6 separate regions of the Homo sapiens genome follow, and all the other regions are linked to region 5. The links are contacts of gene promoters, found by promoter capture Hi-C in human tissues and cell types (Jung and others, 2019). All regions are on one chromosome and are shown on one strand. The core of a region is centred on a gene start or on the middle of the fragment in contact, and the rest is flanking DNA. Distances in the headings are between cores, read along the strand shown.

What was found. The method cuts DNA at HindIII sites, captures the fragments that hold promoters and counts their contacts. A contact is called where the count stands out against the background at its distance.
Region 1: a contact is called between a fragment that was not itself captured here and the fragment with the promoter of DMRT3 in region 5, in 5 of the 25 tissues and cell types used here (H1 embryonic stem cells, heart left ventricle, liver and 2 more).
Region 2: a fragment that was not itself captured here is called in contact with the fragment with the promoter of DMRT3 in region 5 in 3 of the 25 tissues and cell types used here (lymphoblastoid cells, mesendoderm cells and thymus).
Region 3: a contact is called between a fragment that was not itself captured here and the fragment with the promoter of DMRT3 in region 5, in 3 of the 25 tissues and cell types used here (H1 embryonic stem cells, IMR-90 fibroblasts and lymphoblastoid cells).
Region 4: a contact is called between a fragment that was not itself captured here and the fragment with the promoter of DMRT3 in region 5, in 2 of the 25 tissues and cell types used here (H1 embryonic stem cells and lymphoblastoid cells).
Region 6: a contact is called between a fragment that was not itself captured here and the fragment with the promoter of DMRT3 in region 5, in 2 of the 25 tissues and cell types used here (adrenal gland and heart left ventricle).

The regions. Positions count from the first base shown.
Region 1 is chr9:843,376-847,050 of GRCh38, forward strand. It overlaps DMRT1 (doublesex and mab-3 related transcription factor 1), which reads left to right. Exons shown (of 5, transcript NM_021951.3): 2 at 3,585-3,675. Among named protein-coding and RNA genes, the nearest start is that of DMRT1, 3.5 kb to the left of the region's middle. The HindIII fragment of the contact is 3,134 bases long and covers 859-3,675 here.
Region 2 is chr9:819,989-823,978 of GRCh38, forward strand. The region is part of intron 1 of LOC105375949 (a long non-coding RNA gene); the gene reads right to left. Among named protein-coding and RNA genes, the nearest start is that of DMRT1, 20 kb to the right of the region's middle. The HindIII fragment of the contact is 7,652 bases long and covers 1-3,990 here.
Region 3 is chr9:800,366-804,405 of GRCh38, forward strand. No RefSeq gene overlaps it. Among named protein-coding and RNA genes, the nearest start is that of DMRT1, 39 kb to the right of the region's middle. The HindIII fragment of the contact is 5,888 bases long and covers 1-4,040 here.
Region 4 is chr9:736,702-740,694 of GRCh38, forward strand. KANK1 (KN motif and ankyrin repeat domains 1) reads left to right here. Exons shown (of 12, transcript NM_015158.5): 8 at 1,584-1,803. Among named protein-coding and RNA genes, the nearest start is that of KANK1-AS1, 53 kb to the left of the region's middle. RefSeq lists an enhancer at 1,188-2,387. The HindIII fragment of the contact is 5,158 bases long and covers 1-3,993 here.
Region 5 is chr9:974,348-977,938 of GRCh38, forward strand. DMRT3 (doublesex and mab-3 related transcription factor 3) reads left to right here and starts at 2,308. Exons shown (of 2, transcript NM_021240.4): 1 at 2,308-3,108. The coding sequence starts at 2,655. RefSeq lists enhancers at 1-941, 1,474-1,975, 1,976-2,475. The HindIII fragment of the contact is 20,406 bases long and covers 1-3,591 here.
Region 6 is chr9:755,650-759,575 of GRCh38, forward strand. All of the region lies in intron 1 of LOC124902109 (a long non-coding RNA gene), which reads right to left. Among named protein-coding and RNA genes, the nearest start is that of KANK1-AS1, 72 kb to the left of the region's middle. The HindIII fragment of the contact is 4,502 bases long and covers 122-3,926 here.

The sequences.
Region 1 (3,675 bases), core at 1,176-3,675, 130 kb before region 5:
TTGAGAGCTCTGGAAATTTTATTAGCATTTTAAAATTTGCATTCTCGACCGAAGATTAAAGTGCAAATTACTTTGAAGATGTTTTAAAGCACGCTTAAGAATTTTAAAGAATATGCGCAGGTGGAAAAAAGCGCGCCAGGGTTTGAGATTTGGTCCGTCTGTGGTTTTGTTTTTTTGAAGGTTCGTAAGTAGGCTGGTAATTTAACATTTTAACGGAAAGTTAATGTCTTTAGTATTCTAAAAGGATTTTTGGAAGGCAGTAATCCACGTTATTTCCAGTTAAAAGTTGTTTCATCTTTTTAAGACAGGTTATTTAAAATGAAAAGATAACGAAGAAATGTTTGCTAACGATGTGCTACTTTTGATTAGGAACGTGTAAATATCCTCCATTGAAAACAAATGCCCGAAGGTTATATGCTTTTATATAATATATCAGATTTTTACAAATGTGTTTTATACTAAACGTATTTTGGCTTCACAGATGGCGAGTGCAGTCATGAAAATAGATATTGTTTTGCTTAATTTCTTAATAGATTTTTAAAGCTTAATCTGTAGTGGGTGAAAAGAATACACTGGGTGTGGCAGTAAAATGCATCACAATGAGTTTACTGAAAAAAATTAATGGACTTTTAAATTATACTCTGGGCAGAAAAATTCTCTAAACATTTAGTCGTTGGCTTATTTAGTGTGGAGAACATGCTTGGGGGATTTCTCAAAATGTAGTAAAAATATTCTAGTAGAGGAATTAATTTTGAATAACCTTTATTAGTAGAGGAGGCTGCTTACACCGTTAAAAACAAAAGCAACTCAAGGTCACTTAGAATGGGAAACTTCAGTATTTTCTACACCAGAAGGTGTGTACTGTGCCAGATGAATCCTTAAAAATCCATAAAACAACTACTTCTAGTCATTTTTAAATAGTTTGAAATTGATCTTACGTATGATTCTAAAATAATTGTATAGTTGCATTTTTAATCAATTGTTATCCCCTTTCCTTTTTATATAATATTTTCTAAGAAACCTTGAGAGAAGGTCCTTAGCATATGGAGTAGATACCTGTGCATTTTGGATGTGCTTCAGAGGTTTGCAGGGGTTTAAAACTTGTTTCTGGCCAGATTCATTGATGTTCTCTTTCTAAGCCTCTTGGTTAGTAATAGGAAATCCAAGATTTAAGCTTAATTATTTAATTTTAAGTAATTAATTATTTAAGATGAATTTTTCTAAGTCGAAGACTTTTTTTTGGCTATGAGGAAAATTACTTCCCAATTAATCAGCTTCCTGTGTTTGGACTGTGGTTTTCCTAAAACAACATATAAATTGTAGTTGTTTTTCTTTCTTTCTTTCTTTTTTTTTTTTTTTTTTGAGACAGGAGTCTCGCTCTGTCCCCCAGGCTGTAGTGCAGTGGCATGATTTCAGCTCACGGCAACCTCCGCCTCCTGGGTTCAAGCGATTCTTCTGCCTCGGCCTCCCGAGTAGCTGGGACTACAGGCACACGCCACCACACCCGGTTAATTTTTGTATTTTTAGTTAGAGACGGGATTTCACCATATTGGCCAGGCTGGTCTCAAACTCCTGACCTCAGGTGATCCACCCGCCTCGGCTTCCCAGAGTGCTGGGATTACAGGCGTGAGCCACTGCGCCCGGCCTGTAGTTGTGTTTTTTAATTGAACGTTTTGATTTCACCTTTGGCTTATATTTGGGCAGCTCTGCGGTGTGGGTGCTTCACTGTCATTTCATAAGCACCATACCTTAGTTTCAACAGAAAGTCTTTGTTACATGTAGAAAGCAAAAATACAATTAATTTTCTTTAAACCTGTTTTTTCAATCTTATTATTTATTTATTTATTTTTTTGAGACGGAGTCTTGCTCCATTGCCCAGGCTGGAGTGCAGTGGCTCGATTTCGGCTCACTGCAACCTCCACCTCCTGGCTTCAAGTAATTCTCCTCTCGGCCTCCTGAGTACCTGGGATTACAGGCGCACACCACCATGCCTGGCTAGTTTTTGTATTTTTAGTAGAGATGGGGTTTCACCATATTGGTCAGGCTGGTCTCGAGCTCCTGACCTCAGGTGATACACCTGCCTCAGCATCGCAAAGTGATGGGATTACAGGTGTGAGCAACCCCGCCTGGCCTTTTTTCAATCTTTAACGGTGTTATTGAAGAGGGACCATGAAGAGCTTCTTGGGTATGTCAGGTCCTTTCCAGTCCCCAGTTCTGGCTCTCTTCTTCCTGTCTGTCTGGAATATCACACACCTGTCTTCTCCCTTCCTCCCTGCCTTCAGCCTCTTCTTCCTTCAGGGACTTCAACACCAAATTCCAGCCCCTTTCCCCACTGCTTCTCCCGCATGCTCCCTCCACCCCAGGAATCAGGGCTCTGCAGGCTTTCCTAAGCAGACCCTGCCTGCCTTTCCTGCCCACCCTGTTCCATATTATTCCGATATGTACTGCCCCTTCATCCTTGCCTGTCCAAGTCCTCCTCATCCTATTCTTCAAGGCTCTGTCCAAATACTACTGCTGGCTGATTTTAACATGTGAAAGACATTTCTCTCTCTGACTTTCTTCTGTAGGAGTGAAAGGTACTTCTGTGTACCACTCTTGTGGTGTTGGTCTCAGTTTGCCTTTTGTTGTAGTTGCATGTTTGCCTCCTGTTTTTGCCTTTTTTTTTTTTTTTTTGGAGACATAGTCTTGTTTTGTCGCCCAGGCTGGAGTGCAGTGTCGCGATCTCGGCTCACTGCAACCTCTGCCTCCTGGGTTCAAGCAATTCCCCTGCCTCAGCCTCCCGAGTAGCTGGGACTACAGGTGGGCTAACATGCCTGGCTAATTTTTGTATTTTTTTTAGTGGAGATGGGGTTTCACCATGTTGGCCAGGCCGATCTCGAACTCCTGACCTCCGGTGATCGGCCCACCTCTGCCTCCCAAAGTGCTGGGATTACAGGTGCGAACCACCACTCCTGGCCCTGTTTCATTTGTTAAACAGTAAGTAATGTAGGATACAATCTACTCTTACTGGTACCTGTTTTTAGTACAGTGGCCTTTTACAAGTTTATGGAATGAAGGAGTGAGTGATCCCATTTTCCTTCCTAATCTGTTAGTGCTTCTGACCCACTCTACTCTTCAGATTGTACTCCTCCCCTTGGCTGACTATAGTTTTTTCCTGATCCTCCCTAGCCAATCTTATTCTACACAGTCATTTGTTTAACAAGCTTTTTTATTTGTTTGTTAAGAGACAGGGTCTTGCTCTGTCTCCCAGGCTGGAGTGCAGTGGTGCGATTATAGCCCACCGTAGCCTCAAACTCCTGGGCTTAAGTGAGTCTCCTGCCTCAAGCTCTTGAGTAGCTGGGATTCCAGGTATCTGCGACCATGTCTGGCAACAAGCATTTTTTGAGCACCTACTGTCTGGCTCAAAACTGTTTCTCAGCTTTGCACATCATAGTTACCTGGGTGGGTTTAAGAAGAAATGGGAGATTTTCAGACCTCACCTCCAGAGCTAGTGAATCATGGTGTCTGGGATGGGTGGGGCTTCTGTGTTTTGGCAAAGCTGATTCTGGAGTGCTGGAGGATGACTCATTGTCGTGTGCTTCCAGGTGGCCCTGAGAAGGCAGCAGGCCCAGGAGGAGGAATTGGGTATCAGCCACCCCATCCCACTGCCCAGTGCGGCCGAGCTGCTTGTCAAAA
Region 2 (3,990 bases), core at 1,006-3,505, 150 kb before region 5:
CTGTAATCCCAACACTTTGGGAGGCTGAGGCAGGTAGGCTTCTTGAGCTGAGGGGTTTGAGACCAGCTTACGCAACATGGCAAAACCCTGTCTCCACTAAAAATACAAAAACTAGCTGGGTGTGGTGGAGCATACCTGTCTCAAAATTTTTTTTAAAAAGTGAAAAATAAATAAATAAATAAATAAAAAACTTGACCCTAATGATGGAAAAGTTAACATTATAAGTAGATGGAAAAAACACCTCTCTGCCTGGAACATTTGCCTTGGCTCTTCACTTATTTTCCCAAGTTGCTTCCCTCCCAAGGTCTATAATCTCTACTAGAAAATGGAATAGTATTGGACAGTGTGCCTCCTGTCCCAGCCTCCTCATGACCCGCACCTGACCCAACCCTCTCATACTCTCCCCTGCATGCATGACTTCCAGGGTTGGGGGAAGCTGAACAAAGGCCTAGGGTTCAAGGGGAGGGCAGGGTGCAGGCAGGGCAGAGAGGAGGGAAAGGCCCTGCAAGGATCTCTGCTCTCCTCCTATCTCTGGCTTCCCCCTGCCTCTCCTCCCCCAGCCTGAGGCAGGGGGCAAATTGTAGACTTTTAGTCAGGAAAGAGACCCTAGGTCATCATTTCATTTCAGTTTTAAATGAGGCAAACAAAGTACAGAGAAGTGAAAGAGCTTTTCCAAGGTCACAAAGTCAGCTGGAGGCAGAGCCAGGACTAAAGTTTAGGCCCTCTGATGCCCAGTGCTGTCTGAGACCTGTACCTTGTGTGCAGTCTTGTCTCTGTGCTGCTCCACAATCCTCTCCTTTCTTTCTCCTCTACCTTCCTGCCGGAGTTTTTTGTTTGTTTGTTTGTTTTTGTTTTTGTTTTTTGAGACAGGACCTTGCTATGTTGCCCAGGCTGGAGTGCAGTGGCATGATCACAGCTCACTGCAGCCTCGACCTCCAGGGCTCAAGCAATCCTCCCACCTCAGCCCCCAAGTACCTGGGACTACAGGCATGTGACACCAGGCCAGCTAATTTTTAAACTTTTTGTAGAGATGGGGTCTTCCTATGTTGCACAGACTGGTCTTGAACTCCTAGGTTCAAGAGATCCTCCTGTCTCGGCCTCCCAAAGTGCTGGGATTATAGGTGTGAACCACTGCACCTGGCCTGGAGCACTTTTTATAAGCACTTTACTGAGTTGTTTTTGTTTGTTTGTTTGTTTGTTTTTGTTTTTTTAGATGGAGTCTTGCACTGTCGCCCAAGCTGGAGTGCAGTGGTGCGATCTCGGCTCACTGCAAGCTCTGCCTCCCGGGTTCACACCATTCTCCGGCCTCAGCCTCCCGAGTAGCTGGCACTCCAGGTGCCCGCCACCACGCCCGGCTAATTTTTTGTATTTTTAGTAGAGACGGGGTTTCACCTTGTTAGCCAGGATGGTCTTGATCTCCTGACCTCGTGATCTGCCTGCCTCGGCCTCCCAAAGTGCTGGGATTACAGGCGTGACCCACCGTGCCTGGCCTAGCACTTTACTGAGTTTTAATTCACATGTCTTAAAATTTACCCATTCAAAATGTACAATTCAATGAGTTTTAGTATACTGAGTGTTATGCAACCATGTCAATTTTCAAACACTCTCACCACCTCAAAAAGGAACCCTGTACTCATTAGTGGTCACTCCCCATTTCCCCTCAACCCCTAACCCTACGAAACCATCAATCTATAGATTTGCCTTTTCTGCACATTTTGTATTAGTGGACTCATATAATATGTGGGTTTTTGTGACTGGCTTTTTCCACTTAGCGTAATGTCTTCAAGTTTTATCCATGCCATAGCCCTCCAGATTATTCAATTGCTCTTGTCAAGGTAAGTGGAATAAAGGGGCAGAGAGAAGAATAAGAAAGAGAAAAATAAGAAAGAGAAGAATAAGAAAGAGAAGAATGAGAAAGAGAAGAATGAGAAAGAGAATTCTGAGGGCTACGACACAACAGCACAATGAGATGATGGCAGGAATAAATTCCCTTCTATGTACCATGTACCTAAGCAATCTATTAATATTCATTGTCTTATTTAATTTAATCCTCATAGTCTAGGAGCACTACCATCCCCTATTTAGATGAGAAAAACTAAAAAGGAATTTGATAGGTTTTCCAAGGGAATTCAAGTCATAAGGAGTAGAACAAAGATGGGAATTCAAGTTTGCCTGGCCCCAAAGCCCACTGTCTTCCTTTCATTAGACTGGTCCACTTTTTGGGCTATCAGATTCTGACAGTGGGTGGTTTCACACCCATGAGTGGTGGTGACTTCTGGTTAGTCAAAAAGAGTGATGATTTTAAATCATTATACTTCCCTAGCCCAAAATCTCCTCATTCATCATCCTCACATTCCTCATTGCAATACTGTTTCCAAGAGCCAAGGAAGAACAAGACCTACAAGACCAATGTAAAGGACTGGATAAAGTGTGGCACATCCATGCAGTGGATTCAGCGGTCAAATAGGTTGAAAAAGATCCTTCTGGACTGATAGGGAATAATCTTGATATACACAGTGAACAAAAGCCACATACAGAACAGTATGTATACTATGCCACCATGTGTATAAAAAATGTGGAGAGGAAGTGGAAAGTAACACACATATATATGTTTTTACTTGTGTATGCACACAGTAACTCTGCAAGAAATCTCAGAAAATGTAAAACCGGCCAGGTGCAGTGGCTCACGCCTGTAATCCCAACACTTACGGAGGCCGAGGCAGACAGATCATCTGAGGTCAGGAGTTCAAGACCAGCCTGGCCAACAGGGTGAAACCCCATCTCTACTAAAAATACAAAAATTAGCTGAGCATGGTTGTGCGTGCCTGTAATCCCAGCTACTCAGGAGGCTGAGGCAGGAGAATCACTTGAACCAGGAGGCAGAGGTTGCGGTGAGCCGAGATTGTGCCACTGAGCTCTGGCCTAGGTGACAGAGCAAGACGCTGTCTAAAAAAATAATAATAATAAATAAATAAATTTAATGAGCCCCTTAGGGATAACAGGTTTTGGTCTTGGTGCTGGGGATACAGATAGGAACCAAGCCAAATAGAAAAGATGGGAAAGACTTTCGTAGGCGTCACACATCTTGTTGTTTTGTTTTGAGAGAGGGGCTCACTCTGACACCCAGGCTGGAGTGCAGTGGCACAATCATAGCTCACTATAACCTCAAACTCCTGGGCTCAAGTGATCTTCCTCCTTCAGCCTCCCTGTAGCTGGGACTACAGGTGTGCACCACCACACCCAGCTAATTACAGCCCCTTGTTTCCTGTATCCAAAAGACAGTTCCTTTGACACCAGTAATAACTCCTCTATGAACAGAAATCTTGCACTTCTCTCCTGATTTTTCTATAGCATTTAGAACTGGTCTGCACCACACTTAACAATTACTTACCTGCCCCTTTGTTTCGTTTGCTGTGGCTTCAAGAGTGCTCAGTGTAGATCACCCACACTCAGTTGTTGTCACCGTTCACACAATTGTCTAAGATCATCCCAGGACCTAAGAAATATCCCTCTTCTCCCTTCCCACTACCCACTTGTTCCCACTGCCACCATCTGAGGAACAAGAGATAAGCAATGGGACCTTCCTAGGATGTGGTTAAAAGTGTGAATCTGTCCTAGGTTCACATTTGGGAGGCCAGAGGTGGGAGGATTGCTTGAGGCCAGGAGTTCTAGACCAGCCTGGGCAATCTAGCAATACCTTGTCTCTACAAAAAATAGAAAATTGAAAGAAAATTAGCCATGCATGGTGGCACATGCACACCACTGCACTCAAGCTTGGACAACAGAACAAGACAGTTTCTTAAAAACAAAACAAAACAAGTGAACCTGGGTCCGACTGCTCTTCCCCTTTTTTCAGATTGGGCAAATCAGTCAGCCTCTGTACACCCCAGATTCCACAAGTCTAAAGTGGGGATAATGACATGACTTCTGTCAATGGCTGTTGTGATAACTAAATAAATTAATATATAGGCCACATAAGTAAATAAATTA
Region 3 (4,040 bases), core at 1,159-3,658, 170 kb before region 5:
GGGAGGTGGAGGTTTCAGGGAGCTGAGATCACGCTGCAGCACTCCAGCCTGGGCGACAGAGTGATACTCCACCTCAAAAAAAAAAAAAAGAAAGGGGTCCTGGAACCCATCCCCCGTGGAGACCGAGGGACGATTGTGCTGCACCCTCCATGGTAATGCTTTTCTTCCACATCAGTGCTCCCTCAATGCAGTTTCCTGCTCTCTGGGTATCTCCAGACGTGTGGCCCTTCTCCCATCACAACTGTCCCACTCTTCACTTCCCTCCTCTCCTCCCCCTTACATGGCCTCCTCTCAGCACGGGATTCTGTGAACTCAAGCTCAACTGTAAAAAGGCATAAAGCATTATGCTTGCCACAAGAATGTACGTTTTACCAGGAAACAAAGGATGAAATTCCTAAGAGTGGCATTTTGGGCAACACCAAGACAATGGAGGAAGCTGTGGAATAAGCAGGAAGGAAAATGGCTTCCTGATGCTCCTGAAATCAAAGCCTGTTAATTCATTCGGTTGAGTTATTCATTCTGGCTCAGCTCAAAACCACTGACAGCTCAAAGTAAGAAAAACCTTATTTCCTAAGAGGTACAAAACTTGCTAAAATAAACATGAATGTTGGGAGGCCAAGGAGGGCGGATCACTTGAGGTCACGAGTTTGAGATCAGCATAACCAACATGGTGAAACCCGCCTCTCTACTAAAATACAAAAATTAGCTGGGCATAATGGCGCGCACCTATAATCCCAGATACTTTGGAAGCTGAGGCAGGAGAATCACTTGAACTCGGGAGGTGGAGGTCGCAGTGAGCTCAGATCTCGCCACTGCATTCTAGCCTGAGTGATGGAGTGAGACTCCATCTCAAAAAAACAACAACAAAAAATGAACATGAATGAAGAAGCCAAGTGAGAGGCAGGGTGGAAGAGGGTTGGAGAAAGAGCTAGTTCACCCAGGAGAGTTTTATTATTTGTAATATCAGATAGGGTTTAAATGAGCCTTTAGGGTGTCAAAAAGGAGTCTCGGGGGAATATGCCAATTCCTTAGTGAGGGCAAGAAAAACAACAATGACCTCTAAGAACTAGACATGCCTGGCTTGCTGCCCGCTACGGGTAGAAGGAGGAAAAGGATGAACGCCCTTTTGAGTTCAGAGGGCACTGTCCTGGGAAAAGGAAATGATTAGAATTTACATCTGAGCCCAGGTTTGTAACAAAGAAATTGCTTCATAATTTAAAAATTATTCATCCCTGCTTATGCTGTGGCCTCATCCCAGGAAGTAGCAAGTCAACTGTATCCAATGAGGGATTAAAGATAATAAATAAAAGAGTAGCAATTAATTGTGCATCCTGATTTAAGAGGCTGGGTTGCCTGAGTCATGCTTGTGTGGCTTATCAAATTTAGCTCTATTACGACTGTCTTGTATTTCAACTGATGTCTGTGCTCACATCTGAAGGCACTTGTACCACAAGGCGCTTTCAAATAGAAAAGAATTTAAACATATAGATTGTTATAGGATTCTATCATTCTTACAGCACGAGCCAAAAGTGTTGGAAATGGCAGTTTAATGAGTCATGCAAAGCGGCTCAGTATTCAAAGTCAGTGATTCAATTACGTTTCCCCCTCCAAAGGCCATTGGCGGCAGAGCGATAAAGTTGTTTTTGAAATGCCTTGGTTCTGACTTGCCTTTTTGTAATTCTTGCCCGTTTTCTTGCACTTTAAAAAGCAAAGGCATCCCAGTGGCCCAAACCCCAGGTCACCTGATAATCAGAATCATTATCAGAGCCAAACAAGAAAAATAAATGCATCGTAACGGTGAGGGGATTGGCAAGAGGGGACTTTAAATGCAGTGCCCACAATGAATCCACCCCTTCCTGTACACTTCTTGCCAGAGCAGAACTGGGAGGTGAGTGTGGGAAAGGGCTCTTGCTGAAATGTGGGGACAAATGTGCTCCTCTCTGGCCCTGTCAGCGTCCTTGGCCCAAGACCTTTGAAGGTGCCCTCGACAGCCCCAACAGGTAAAGATTTCTCTGCTTGAATGCCAAATCGCATTTTAACAGTGCACTAATTCTTTCATTTGCTGCCCTACATGTTTTTATCCTCAGGCCATAATTTTACCTGCCAACTCAGGTAAATAGCCTTTAATAGGACAAAGGCTTTAAAAGGTTATACTGTACTGGATTTTGTGCTGAGACTGTGTACTTTCACTGCTGAGTCCTCAGAAGAGAGATTTTGTCATCTAAACCAAGTGTGAGTCGCCCCAAAAGGCCCCCTTCTTGTAGCGCTTTGGGAAGGGAAGGGTGGCTCTATCGCCCATCAGACGGCTTGGCCACTGCTCCTTCAGAAAATGCTTTCCTCCCCTTGGTGTGAGTGAGCCGGGAGGCTGGAGACTGTCCCCACTGTGTCCACTCGTCATCTTCCTCCATAACATCACTGCACACTGTTATGCATGAATATTAGACCTGATGGGCTGGAGACAGCTAAAGGAAATCACAACTTAGAAGAGAAGAATTTAAAATTGAACAGGAACGTGACTTTTCCCCTATACAAAGGTATAGCTCTCAAAAAAGAAAAGGAACAAAATGTAAAATAACTGCCATGTATTATACCACCTAGAAATCAAAGAAAAACATGAAAACCTGCGCAAAATACAAAGAATTTATCAAGATGCTTACATTCAGTTCCTAGCTCCTCCCTCCAACAGCATTAATATGGGGTAGCATAATTTGTCGATAACACACCATAGTTGGGCAAAGCCAGACCATTCAGAGTCTCCAGAAACCACATGGGCTTTAATTTGAATTTTGTGAAATCTTTGTAATTTGTAGTTTGGCAATTTGTGGCACTCAAGCCCACAGCCACAAATTGGCTTCAGATGAATATCACCTATTGATGGGCTTTATTTCTTCTATATTTTCCAAGACACAGTCACATATTTTTGGACTCTCTAATTCATTAGCTATCTAGCAGGCACAGATATTATATTAGCTTGCTAGGGTTTCGTACAAACTGGGTGGCTTACACAACAGAAACTTGCTGTCTCACAGTTCCAGAGGCTAGAAGTCCAAGATGAAGGTGTCAGCAGGGTTGGTTCCTTGTGAGATGTAAGGAAAGGATCTATTCCGGGCCACTCTCCTGGGTTCTGATGTCTGCTGGCACTCTTTGCTGTTCCTTGGCTTGCAGAAGCATCACCCTCATCTTTGCTTTCATCTTCATGTGTTCTCCCTGTGCGCATGTCTGTGTCCAAACTATTTCCTTATTTTGCTTTGTTGTTGTTGTTTTTGATTTTTGTTTTTGCTTTTTTGAGACGGAGCCTCGCTCTGTCACCAAGGCTGGAAGTGCAGTGGTGTGATCTCGGCTCACTGCAATCTCCACCTCCCAGGTTCAAGAGATTCTTATGCCTCAACCTCCTGAGTAGCTGGGACTACAGGCAACCGCCACCACGCCTGGCTATTTTTTTTGTATTTTTAGTAGAGATGGGGTTTCACCAGGTTGGCCAGGCTGGTCTTGAACTCCTGACCTCAGATGATCTGCCTGCCTCAGCCTCCCAAAGTGCTGGAATTACAGGCGTGAGCCACTGTGCCTGGCCTACATATTGCCACTCAGGGATATTTGTTAAGAGGACATGCTTTTCACGGGGAAAATGGTTAAGTAAATTATTATCCACTTGATGGAATTGTATGTATTGATTTTAAATGATGGCTTTGAGCTCTATGTAATGACATGGAGAAAGTGTATTAATAATGTCAAAGAGAAAAAGGCAGAAGGATAAATGTGTTCTTACAAACTCATATACAATGATTAACAGTTATAATAAAGTCCCACACCTTTGTCCAGGCCTGCATGATTCAGCCCTCTGTCCAGCTCTCTGACCACATCTCCTCCCTCTCTCCTGGTCTCTTGCTGTGCTCCAGCTACTCAGGACCTCTTTTGGTGCCTCATACACACCCAGCTTGTTTGCACCCTGGGATCTCTGCACAGCTCTTCCCTCTGCCTGGAATGCCCTTCTCCCTCTCTTCACATGCTACATCCTTCCTAGCAATTCAAGTCAAGTGTGG
Region 4 (3,993 bases), core at 1,031-3,530, 240 kb before region 5:
AAAAAAAAAATTCCTAGTCAAGGGGAAACATAGAACTACATATTGAAATTCTTGGATTTGTATTCATGAAAATACCTGGCTATACCCTGGTCACTAGTAAAACCATAAAATCTCACTGCAGGGTCAGTATTTCCCATCAGGTTTAACCTAAACTTAAAACTGGTGCCTTACAACCCCAGATTTTATAGCCATAGTACACTTTTCTTTCACTGTTCTCAAAATACTAGGTTACGTGGCCTTTGGGAAGGATTCTGTTTTCCTGCATCCTCCAAATTGCCGAGCATGGTGTCATCCACACACACTGTGATGGGTACATCTTTTTAACTGAATTTTCATTTGGTGTGAAAGTGTTTAAAGTATTGTGTTGTGAAAAGTAGTGGACGAGTAAACACAATGCCAGGGCTAGATAATCATGTCAGGACACCAGTTATTTAGCAGTAATAGAATTAGAATGACCAGAAGACATAATTTCCCTTCTTTCAGTGTGACAACTCCAGAGAAACAGGAATGTGAATATATACAGAAAAAAAAGGACACTCTTCAAGTGACCCAAAATGTGATTGAAATGGTTAAAACTAAATAATCAGTAGCAGGATGATAAAGAGATGGAAGCTCTATAATCCCAACTCTACCTTTTCTACAGAAAGAGGACTTCTTGGGTTCTGGTGCTTCTGACATAGGCTGTCTTTCTTTGATATATTTTTAAACTTTTAAAGAGTAAGCACAGCAGAAATGAATATTAAACTCATATGAAGGCCCATTGAAAAGACACTGTAGTCATCCTCATCACCAGTACTGACTGCTCAGTCTCCACTGAGCTTCATGTGACCCAGGGTTGAGTTGATCATCCACAAAGCAAGTGCCTTCTTCATGTGTCCACAGCCTAAGGAAGTCAGAGTGGAGCTGATGAGAGAATGAAATTAGTTCCAGACGGGGTTCCCTTTTATTTTCCCTTTCCGTGGTTGAACAGTTGTATTTGGGATTGGGGTGGGAATTGGGTTGGCTATACACGTACGGTCTCCCAACCTAGTGCTGTGCTGAGGAGTTGAAGGAGGTGAGTTTGGTCTGGATAGGAAGGAAGCAGCATAATTCAGTGTAGGCTAGTTAATTTCTTCCTAATTTCTATGAAAATTGTTTGCAAGGCCAGTATGATTACATCATATTAATAGCTTAATAAATGGAGCCAAGCCTGAGTGTTTATTCTCATCACAGAAACTATGAAAGCATGGTATTATCCAGTTTTTCAGATGAGGAAACGGAAGCAGAATAACTTCCCTCGGGTCATAAAGCTTTTAGGTAGCAGAGCCTGCATTTGAAACTCAGTGGTCTGGCTCCAGAGCCTCTGCTTCTGCATGGTGCTGTCTGGTCTCCTTTATAGACATTAGAATCTACACGTCATTTAAAATCAGGAGAAATGTCCCAGTTTGGTGTTTGAAGCTTCTCTTAGGGCTGTTGGTTTTTGAGAGCAGATTCTAACTGCATATATATACTTTGACTATAAAAGGACAGGTTACTTGTGCTTTCAACTAGGTCTCAGAAAGTCTATAAATAGAAGAACTAACGACCACTTGGTGTTTTGGCAGAGGTTCTGTCTGAACACCCTCCAGCACGAGTGGTTCCGCGTGTCCAGTCAGAAGTCAGCCATTCCAGCCATGGTGGGGGACTACATAGCTGCTTTTGAGGCCATTTCCCCAGATGTCCTCCGCTATGTCATCAACTTGGCAGACGGCAACGGCAACACAGCCCTCCATTACAGCGTGTCCCACTCCAACTTCGAGATTGTGAAGCTGCTGTTAGATGCCGGTATGTTGGCTGCCCTTCCACCCTCTCTTCTCTAACAGTACTTGGGTTGTGACTCATCTCAGAGAACCTGGTTGAGCCACTCCTGAATTCTCTGACCATGCTAAAATCCTTTTTATTGCTTTTCCACATGACATGGCAAGAATTTTCTTGAGTCATTCATAAGAGGCTTGAAGTTTAAACAAAACTGGGTGACACAGATTCTAGATCTGTTTTTGAAAGGAGGTTTTGAGGATCTTCTTGCTGCAGTTCAGCTGCATTCAAAAGTGAGAGGTGTATGCCTGGTAAGAAGCATGTCTCACGTTCCCTCCTGAGCTGAATCATGCGGGCTTGGCCGGTTTGCACTCAGGAGGCAGAGTGCTGCTTACAGGCCCAGGGTCACAGCCTTGGTGCGTGTGGACCACTTGATTTGACCTTACTCCATGACTGCTGTCCTTGCAGAAGTGTGTGGTTAGTCAAGATGGGGACTAAGCAAAGCCACCTTAACAGATGGTCAAATGATCACCATTCTCACCAAAATATACTGTTATTGGGGAAACAGCATAGAGCAAAGGGCATGTTATTCTTGTCTCTCAACCATAATAGAATAGTAGAAACTTGTTATCCCAGAATAGAGCCAGTGGACATCTTAGACATGAAGTGAGGGAGGGGCACATACACAGATGGTACCCTCAAGAAACTGTGAGCTTTCAACTTCTTGTTCAAATGGAGCAGCCTGATGCCACATAGACCCCAAGTCTTTTAATTTTTGTAATACATATTTTTATTTCTAGTATGTGACAGAGAAGTCAGAGTATCTCAGTCTGATTAATGAGGATGTAGTGTGAACCTTAGAATATGCAATCATACTGTCCAATTTTCTGAAATTCTGTCTTCATCCACTGTCCAATCTCTTCTGCTCTGTTTTGGGAACTTGGAATTGATGCAGAGAAGAAAGCCAAGCAGATTTATCCTTCCTTTCTCTTATAAGTGTGTTTGTTCCCTCTTTTTGGAGCCATGTTAGGGTATAACTGCTTCCATCTTACAGGAAGGAATTTCAAGCCCCTCCTCTTCAGGCTTTCTAGACTATAAACAGAGCTGGTGATACAGTCAGCCAGAGTGATTGTTTAAACAGAAGTAGATAATATCCAGGGAAGCTGAAAACAAGATTTCACTATCACTCCTGACAGGAACAGCTTAGTATACCCTTAGAAGTTGATAAAACATCTTGGCAAATTAAATAATTTTAATTCCATTGCTGGATGGTTTGGGTTAATCACTTATCTTAATGGTTACTGCTCCCCCTTCTAGGCTGAGATTCTGGCTCCATAAGGTGTAGATCTAGGATGCTTCAGCATCTATGCAGAGCAGAGTCCGCAAAGTCCGAGGTGCTAAGGAGCCCCGAAGCGCACACGAATTCACCTGCTTCTCCTCCACAGGGCCTTTTATTTTCTGCATTAAAAACACCCACTTTTAAAAACATGTCCTTAGTATGGAGTTGTTTGGGATCTTAAGGTAAATGTTCATGGTACCTTTTATTTTCCTTTATGATAGAAACATTCTGAACATTTTAACTTCATATTTGGTCCCACATAAAAGCTGCTTTCTAACACTCACCATTCCGGTCATTTCAGAGAAAGTGCCGAAGGAACTTTTAAATGCCCGAAGGATAATTTTATCCCTGAAGACTCCTTAAGAATTACAAGAATAGAAAAGGTCTGGTTCATCGATTCTGTTAAGGGGACTTAACTGCATTTGTTCTCGACCATAAATTCTGGAGCTGGATGTTATATGATTGGAATTCTGCTTTTCAGGACCCCCGACAGGCCAGAGTAGTAAATTCAGAGTCTCAGAATGAGTAATGTTTGGATAAGTAGGTACCACCCTGTCCAACGTTCCATACGTAAGCGTTTGCAAACACTTCGTTCATGAATAGCTCACTACCTGCTTCACTTTCCTAAACACAGCTGAGTGCCTAGATTCCAAAAATCGTTTATTCTCAAGAGCAACCAGTAGAACAACCACCCTGACTTCCAAGCCATTGCATTTCAGCCACCAGTTGCAAACAAGATACGCTGTGGAAGCTTACCGTTGTTTCTCTTGCTTCAGGTGTCGTGAAATAGGGGGAAAAAAAGTTTTTGGTTTAGTATGAAAACATCTCTCACATTTCCTTCTAAGTCACTCTTGGTCTCCAGCCACCTGGTACCATTTCAC
Region 5 (3,591 bases), core at 1,058-3,557:
AGGGAGATGTTGTCAAATACTGGGATATGGAAAACATTCCCATCAAATATGAGAAAAGGATTACTGCACTATATCAAATGAGTATTTAGATCTCAGCCCCCGATGTGCACCGGAGTGAAACGGGCCCCCGGGACCAAATGCCAGACTGTTTGAGTGGCAACGAGATAGGGTGGCTAGGTGACCGACGGGGGAAAAGGGGTCGCCTTGGTAGTGAAAGTGCCCCCACAAACCTGGTGCAGAGCTCTTCTGCTTTCCTTTTAAAAATTTATTCATACTCAAGTTCTTTATACTTCCTCGTTTCACTGTTTGAAGAAAATCGGAAGAAATTTGGTTTTGAAAAAAGTCGTTGGTCCCCACGTTTCCAAGAGATCCGGAGGTTTCAGCGCAATAGTTTTCAGTTAAGGTGTCATTTGAGGCCCTCTATATCGCAGCACGTTAAATGACTCGCGTCCAGCTCCCCATTTCCTAGCCTCGGGCCTACAGGGCTGGGGGCGACCTCTGCCTCCCGTCCCCAGAGCTTACAAAATTCCTTCCAGTTGTATTTTAGGGCTTGTTTTCCTAGAGAAGGTTGAGACTAGAGGAAGGATTAAAGTGGTGGGGGAAGGGGCAAGACCGAGGGGTCCCTACCCCACGCGGCTTTGGAGGATGGCCTCCCAGGGTTAGCACTCGAATGCTAGAGCTTCTTGTCCACACTCTACCAGGTCAGTGTCCCGCGATCCCCACCTCCCGGACGCGTATGAAACGGGAACAGCTAAGGGCTTCAAGGGAAACACACAACTGGGGTTCGGTTTTCAACCCTCCTCTCCGCAAATCAGCCTTCTGGGCAGAGGGTTGGCTGCTAGAACGCCTGGAGGTGCTTCCCTTGAATTCATGGCAAACACCAGAGGAAAGTTTTCAGGTTGCTTGCTTACTTCCAGGGCAGTACAGAGAAAAGCGGCCTCCCCGAGGGGACAAGGGCCTCTGTGCCCATGAGGGGTCGGACATTGCAGCGGACTTGCCTACGCTCTCATCTAGCATTTGATTCCCCACCAGGAGATGGGCTTGGTGCACGCTCTCAGAAGCGCATCCACCGAAGGCTCTGGAACTGCCCCGCTTCGCATAGAGCTATTGTGCTGCCCTGCAGTGTATCCACTTGTTTTGTTTGTTTGTTTGTTTTTTGGTTTTTGCTTGTTTGCTGATGGGCAGTGGGGAGGTGCGAGGGTGGAGGGCCTTCTTTGTGCATATATAGCGATAGTCTGCACTAGGCCAAGCCCGCTACTCCTGGGAGAATGGGAACACGCAAATAATCTAAACAAAGTTTTCTGCTGTCATCTTGTGAAGGACCCTCTCCCCCAAGACATCTATGACTGGGGTCTATGGGTTAAGGAGGTGAAAAAGTGGCCCCATCCCATATCCATAACTGAATCACAGAATCCGTGGGGATTTGAACTGAGTGGCTGGCGCAAGACCTCCGTTTGCTTCCAGTAGCTGCTGGGAGCGAGGGAAGAGGATATCGGTAACTTTGGGGGCGCCAATGTGGCTTCTGTGTCTGCCCCTTGAAAGTTTATACCCGGCGCTTAACAAATCCTTTACAGGAGCACGTACGTCCCTGACCTTTCAGGATACTGTTTTATATTAAAACATGGACAGGAGGGTAGAAAAGTAAAATTCGCCTGCAAAATGGCTTGTCATCCTTGGGCCGGCAGATCTCCAAAACCATTTTCTTCTAAAGCAACAAAAGAGAAAAAAATACGTTCTAAAAGGAAATTACGAAAAGAGCCTAACTTTCCTAAACCAACATCACTTCACTCCCCTATCCTAAACTCCACCCAGGTCCGGGGTGCAACCGCAACACTCCCGTAGGTTCGAGTTCTCCCGGAGCTGAGCTTCTGCGGCCAAATGTCGGGATAAAAGCGGCCTTGGGCTCGGAAAAACGCGGCCAGATCTGGACTGGAGGGAGGAGAAGAGAGAGAAGCGGAGCGGCCACCTCACTCGCTTACAGGCACCCCCACCCTCACTCCCGCTGGTCCTCCCCTTCTCCGCCCCGCGAGCACCGCCGCGTTCTGGAGCGCCGCAGTCTCCAGCCGCGGGCTGGGGTAGCGGAGAGGGCTTGGAGGAGGGGGCCGCGAGCGCCCCCGCGAGAGTGGCCTGGCTGCAGGTGGCAAGGAAGGTGAAGTGCAGGCACCCGAGGGGCGCAAAGGAGGAGGAAGGCGTGGGGCGGGGAGTGCAAGGAGACAGGGACCCCAGGGGCGGGGGTGGCGGTGGGAAGGAGGAGGGGTTGGGGGAGGGCGGCGGAGGTGTTGGGTCCGGCCGGCTCACGAGGGAGCTGCAGAAGAGCTGGCTCAGACCTTAATCAGAGCTGTCGCCGGCTCCTTGCAGCCGCCGCAGCGCCTCCGCGAAGGAGGACGTGCCGACCCGGCTGCGCGCCCAAGGCAGAGGCCCGCGTCGGCGTTGGCTGGGCGTGAGCTGGGAGGCCGAGCTGTGAGCGCGAAGGGAGCTGGAGAGACGACTGCGGCACCTCCGGCCGCCCCGGAGCACACACGACCACCGGGGCTGCGGGACCAAGGGCCGCGTCGCCCGGAGGCCGCCCCTGAGCGGGCCTCGCAGCCCCGCCGTCCAGCGCTCCCTGGCCCTCTCCCGCAGCCAGGCTGCCAACTCATTCGGGAGCCCGGGGCATGAACGGCTACGGCTCCCCCTACCTGTACATGGGCGGCCCGGTGTCGCAGCCGCCACGGGCGCCCCTGCAGCGCACGCCCAAGTGCGCGCGCTGCCGCAACCATGGCGTCCTGTCCTGGCTCAAGGGCCACAAGCGTTACTGCCGCTTCAAGGACTGCACCTGCGAGAAGTGCATCCTCATCATCGAGCGGCAGCGGGTCATGGCTGCGCAGGTGGCGCTGCGCCGGCAGCAGGCCAACGAGAGCTTGGAGAGCCTCATCCCCGACTCGCTGCGCGCTCTGCCAGGGCCCCCGCCGCCGGGGGACGCCGTCGCCGCCCCGCAGCCGCCGCCAGCCTCTCAGCCGTCGCAGCCGCAGCCGCCGCGCCCTGCTGCCGAGTTGGCCGCGGCCGCCGCGCTGCGTTGGACTGCCGAGCCGCAGCCCGGGGCTCTGCAGGCGCAGCTCGCCAAGCCAGGTAAGAGCGTCTGAGGTGCGGGAGTTTGGCCGGGCGCGGGGGCAACTTCGGAGTGCCAGCTGCAGCTCCACTTGGGAGGACTGGAGGCAAAGTTTTGGGACGTGGGCCTGTCGGGGCTTTCCTTCCTACTCTCCGCCAGGCCGGGGCTTCCTCTCCCGGGAGAAGCCGGCTGAGTCTGGACCCAGCGCGAGTGGCACTCGCGCCCGCAGGGAAGGCGCCTCCGGGCAGCCAAACGACGGGACTGTGCGTCAGTATCGCCAGGTGCCTTCCCAGGTTGAAGGGTTCGGAACGTGTCAGATTGAGCAGGGAGACAACGGAGTTGAGACAGGACAAAATTAAAACCCACGTGCGCACACTCACTACGGTGGGGTCGGATTTTCCTGGCTGCAGGCTTTAGAGGTCCTTGCCATTTGGGGGTTGGAATGGGTAGGTAGGTGTAGGGAAGGAGCCAAGGCCAACACTCGGCTGAGTCGAGCTGGCTGT
Region 6 (3,926 bases), core at 1,123-3,622, 220 kb before region 5:
GATTACAGGCGTGACCATCACACACAGCCTTGGGAGCTAGTTTCAAGCGGTATTTTTGACGAGTACCGGGGTGAAGCACCAGTAAGGGAAGAATTCCATCTCCAGCCTGTTCCCACTGAGGAGACTGTACCATAAAGCACTAGGGAAATCTGACCTCCACAGCCTTTGGCTTCCAACTGAGGATCAAAGCAAGGACAGGCATGAGTCATAGTAGAGTCCCCTTAAACCCTTAGCTGGTGAGCGTTATTTCACCACAAGCCATGGCTATTTCCTGTGGCCAACAGGAAAAGGCTGCATAGTCATTTCTGAATTCCTGTGGAAGAACTACTCTGAGGCAGTCTTATCAAGCAAGTCTAGCTCTGTCTCTGGGCAGTGACCTGAAGGCATCTCTTCCTTAACTTTGACAGCTGATCCCAGACTAACTTGTCACATAGGAGTTGGACATTGGTTGTGCCATACTAACCCCAGGAGGAGGAAGTGGAGGAACTGACTGAGAGGAGAGGTTACCACTTGCTAATGAAGTTAAGGGAATCCTCATTGCGCAAGGACGTTTCAGCTCTTCTGCCTGCTCTGAAGGTGGAACATGCTGTGGTCATCACTTTGGTCAAACATGAACAACAGCCTTATAGGAGAGCAGGTGGAGCTAATGGGGGAACAAAGATGAAAATCATGTTCAACACTTTTGGAAGCACTGAACATGATGGGGTTAATGAGCCAGTGGTCTGATCCTCCTTCTGCTCATGGAGGGAGGCTGAAATGCCTGACAACCTCTGGCTTCTCCCTGCAAAAACAGAAGAGATCCTGGAGCTAAGATAGGTGACTTTTTTTTTTTTTTTTTTTTTTTTTTTTTTTTTTTTTTTTTTTTGGAGAAGGAGTCCCACTCTGTCGCCCAGAAGACTGGAGTGCAGTGGCGAGATCTCCACTCCCTGCAACCTCCGACTCCCAGGTTTAAGCGATTCTCTTGCCTCAGCCTTCCAAGTAGCTGGGATTACAGGCACCCACCACCACTCCCAGCTAATTTTTTTTTTGTATTTTTAGTAGAGAGGGATTTTTGCCATGTTGGCCAGGCTGGTTTCAAACTCCTGACCTCAGGTGATCCACCCGCCTCAGCCTCCCAAAGTGCTGGGATTACAGGCATGAGCCACCGCACCCGGCCAACATAGGTGACTTGTCACACCTGCTTCAGAGAGAGCCCAGGGCAGGCAAGGCAGTCCCCATTGGAGCTGACTTCCAACCCCATGCATGGCTGCTTCTCTGTGCTGCTTCCCTGCTGAGCTTCAACTCCCTTCTAGGGATGCCATTTTCCTGACAACCAAAATGGCAGGCAGAACCAGCCTCATTTGCTGAGGTTGAGAGGAGGGCGCCTGACACACAGTAGGGTTCAGAACCTGTCCAGTGAGGTGAATTTTGCAGGTTGTTCGTGGCAAATCTTTTTCTTTTTTTTTGAGAGGGAGTCTCACTCCATCACCAGGCTGGAGTGCAGTGGTGCGATCTTGGCTCACTGCACGCTACGCCTCCCGAGTTCAAGCAATTCTCCTGCCTCAGCCTCCCAAGTAGTTGGGATTACAGGCGCACACCACCACACCTGGCTAATTTTTTGTATTTTTAGTAGAGACAGGGTCTCACTATGTTGGCCAGACTGGTCTCCAACTCCTGACCTCGTGATCTGCCTGCCTCGGCCTCCCAAAGTGCTAGGATTACAGGCGTGAGCCATCGTGCCCGTTCATGGCAAGTCTTAAGGCTGTCAGTAACACATCTGAAGGGGGCCGTTATGCCAACAGGAAAGAGACATGTTCTGTGCTTCTCCAGGAGGAAGAGGGTCCAAAGTGCTGAGCCAAAAATCCAACAACTAGCACACATTTAAATGGGCTCCCCCAGGCGGGAATGAGGCAGGGAAGGTTTCTTCAAATAAACAGACACTCGTTCAACTCAACTCCAAATGGGCACCGCCCGCCCCCTGTGAAAGGCCTTGGTAAGGAGTGCGAGAGGTTAGCTGAGAAGGGTCCCAGCCAGCACAGAGGCTACTACTACCTGCAACCCCACCAGTTCCCTTCACTCCTCAGCCTGACCTATCAGCTCTCCCTAGTGGCCAGTGGGAGACATATCCAAGCATGAGCCAGTCTCCCAACAACGTTTAATTTTATTTATTTATTTATTTTGAGACAGAGTCTCCCTCTGTCACCCAGGGTGGAGTGCAGTGGAACGATTTCAGCTCATTGCAACCTCTACCTCCCAGGTTCAAGCGATTCTCCTGCCTCTGCCTCCCAAGTAGCTGGGATCACAGGCAGGCACTACCACATTGGCTAATTTTCTATTTTTAGTAGAGACCGGGTTTCACACCATGTTGGCCAGGCAGGTCTCGAACTCCTGACCTCAGGTGATCCACCTGCCTCAGCCTTCCAAAGTGCTGAGATTACAGGCATGAGCCACCGTGCCTGGCCAACAATGTTTTTAAAACAGGACATAATGGGTTACAAAATTAATGTAACTACAAGCATTTTTAAAAGTTGAATAAATCTGAAATCTTGATTGTATCAGATATATTGATGGTAACATCATTTCATGAAGCTTTGTGTGTGTGTGTGTGTGTGTGTGTTTGTGTATCATCTCAGTCACAAAATAAGATGTGTTTGGGGTTTTTTGGTTTCTCCTTAAGACAGGGACTCACTATCACGCAGGCTGGAGTGCAGTTGTGCAATCACGGCTCACTGCAGCCTCAACCTCCTGGGCTCAAGCGATCCTCCCACTTAAGCCTTCCCAAGTGGCTGGGACCACAGGCGCACTCTACCACACTAGGCTAATGTTGAGGCAGGATCTCACTATGTTGCCCAGGCTAGTCACTTTTTTGTCTGGTAGCCTCATGGTCTAGAAAAGTTTCAACGTTTATAGCAAGTAACTTTTTCTTTCAACATCAGCCTACTTCACTCTTCTTTTTAATTATGTTCGAATTTTTTATTGTAGTAAAACATACATAATATGAAGTTTGCCATCTTTACTATTTTAAGTGTATAATTCAGTGACATGAATTGTATTTACAATATTTTGTAACTAGCACCACTATCCAGATCCAAAACTTTTTCATCACCCATAAAAGAAACTCCATAACCATTAAGCAAAACTGTCCATATCCCCTCCCTCAACCCCGGTAGCTTCAGTTCCACTTCCTGTCTCTATGCCTTTGCCTATTCTAGATAGCTCACATAGGGGAATCATGCAACCGTTGTCCTTTTGTGTCTGATTTATTTCTCTTAGCATAATGTCCTCAAGGTTCATCCATGTTGTAGCACATGTCAGAACTTAATTCCTTTTCATAGCTGAATAGTAGTGCACTGTATGTATATTCTGCCTTTTGTTTATGCATTCATTTGTTATCACCACCTCATCTTATTTTATTTGAGACAAGGTCTTACTCTGTCACCCAGGCTGGAGTGCAGTGGCGCAATCATGGCTCACTGCAGCCTGGACTTCTCGGGCTCAGGTGATCCTCCCACCTAAAGCCTCGCAGGTAGCTGGCATTGCAGGTGCGCACTGCCACGCCTGGCGAATTTTTTGTAGAGATGGGGTTTCACCATGTTGCCCAGGTTGGTCTCAAATGATCCTCCTGTCTCGGCCTCCCTAAGTGCTAGGATTACAGGCATGAGCCACCACACCCAGCTACCACCTCATTTTAAAATAAAGTGAAGCTCAGACTGGCTTCACTACTTAGCGGGAAGGCTGATCAGAAAGAGCAGGCCTCCTGCCTTCTAAGCCAAGACTTTTGCCACTACTCCAAGCTACTGACAAGCCTGCTTTGCCTTGACACCCTTTATTTCATATTCTGTTCCAATTCCAAGTCGTGAAAAATAACAAACCCTTAGCACTTAACCACACAGCAGGCGCTGTTCTGAGTGGTTTGCTCACGTTCCCTTATTTTCTCCTTTCCAGAA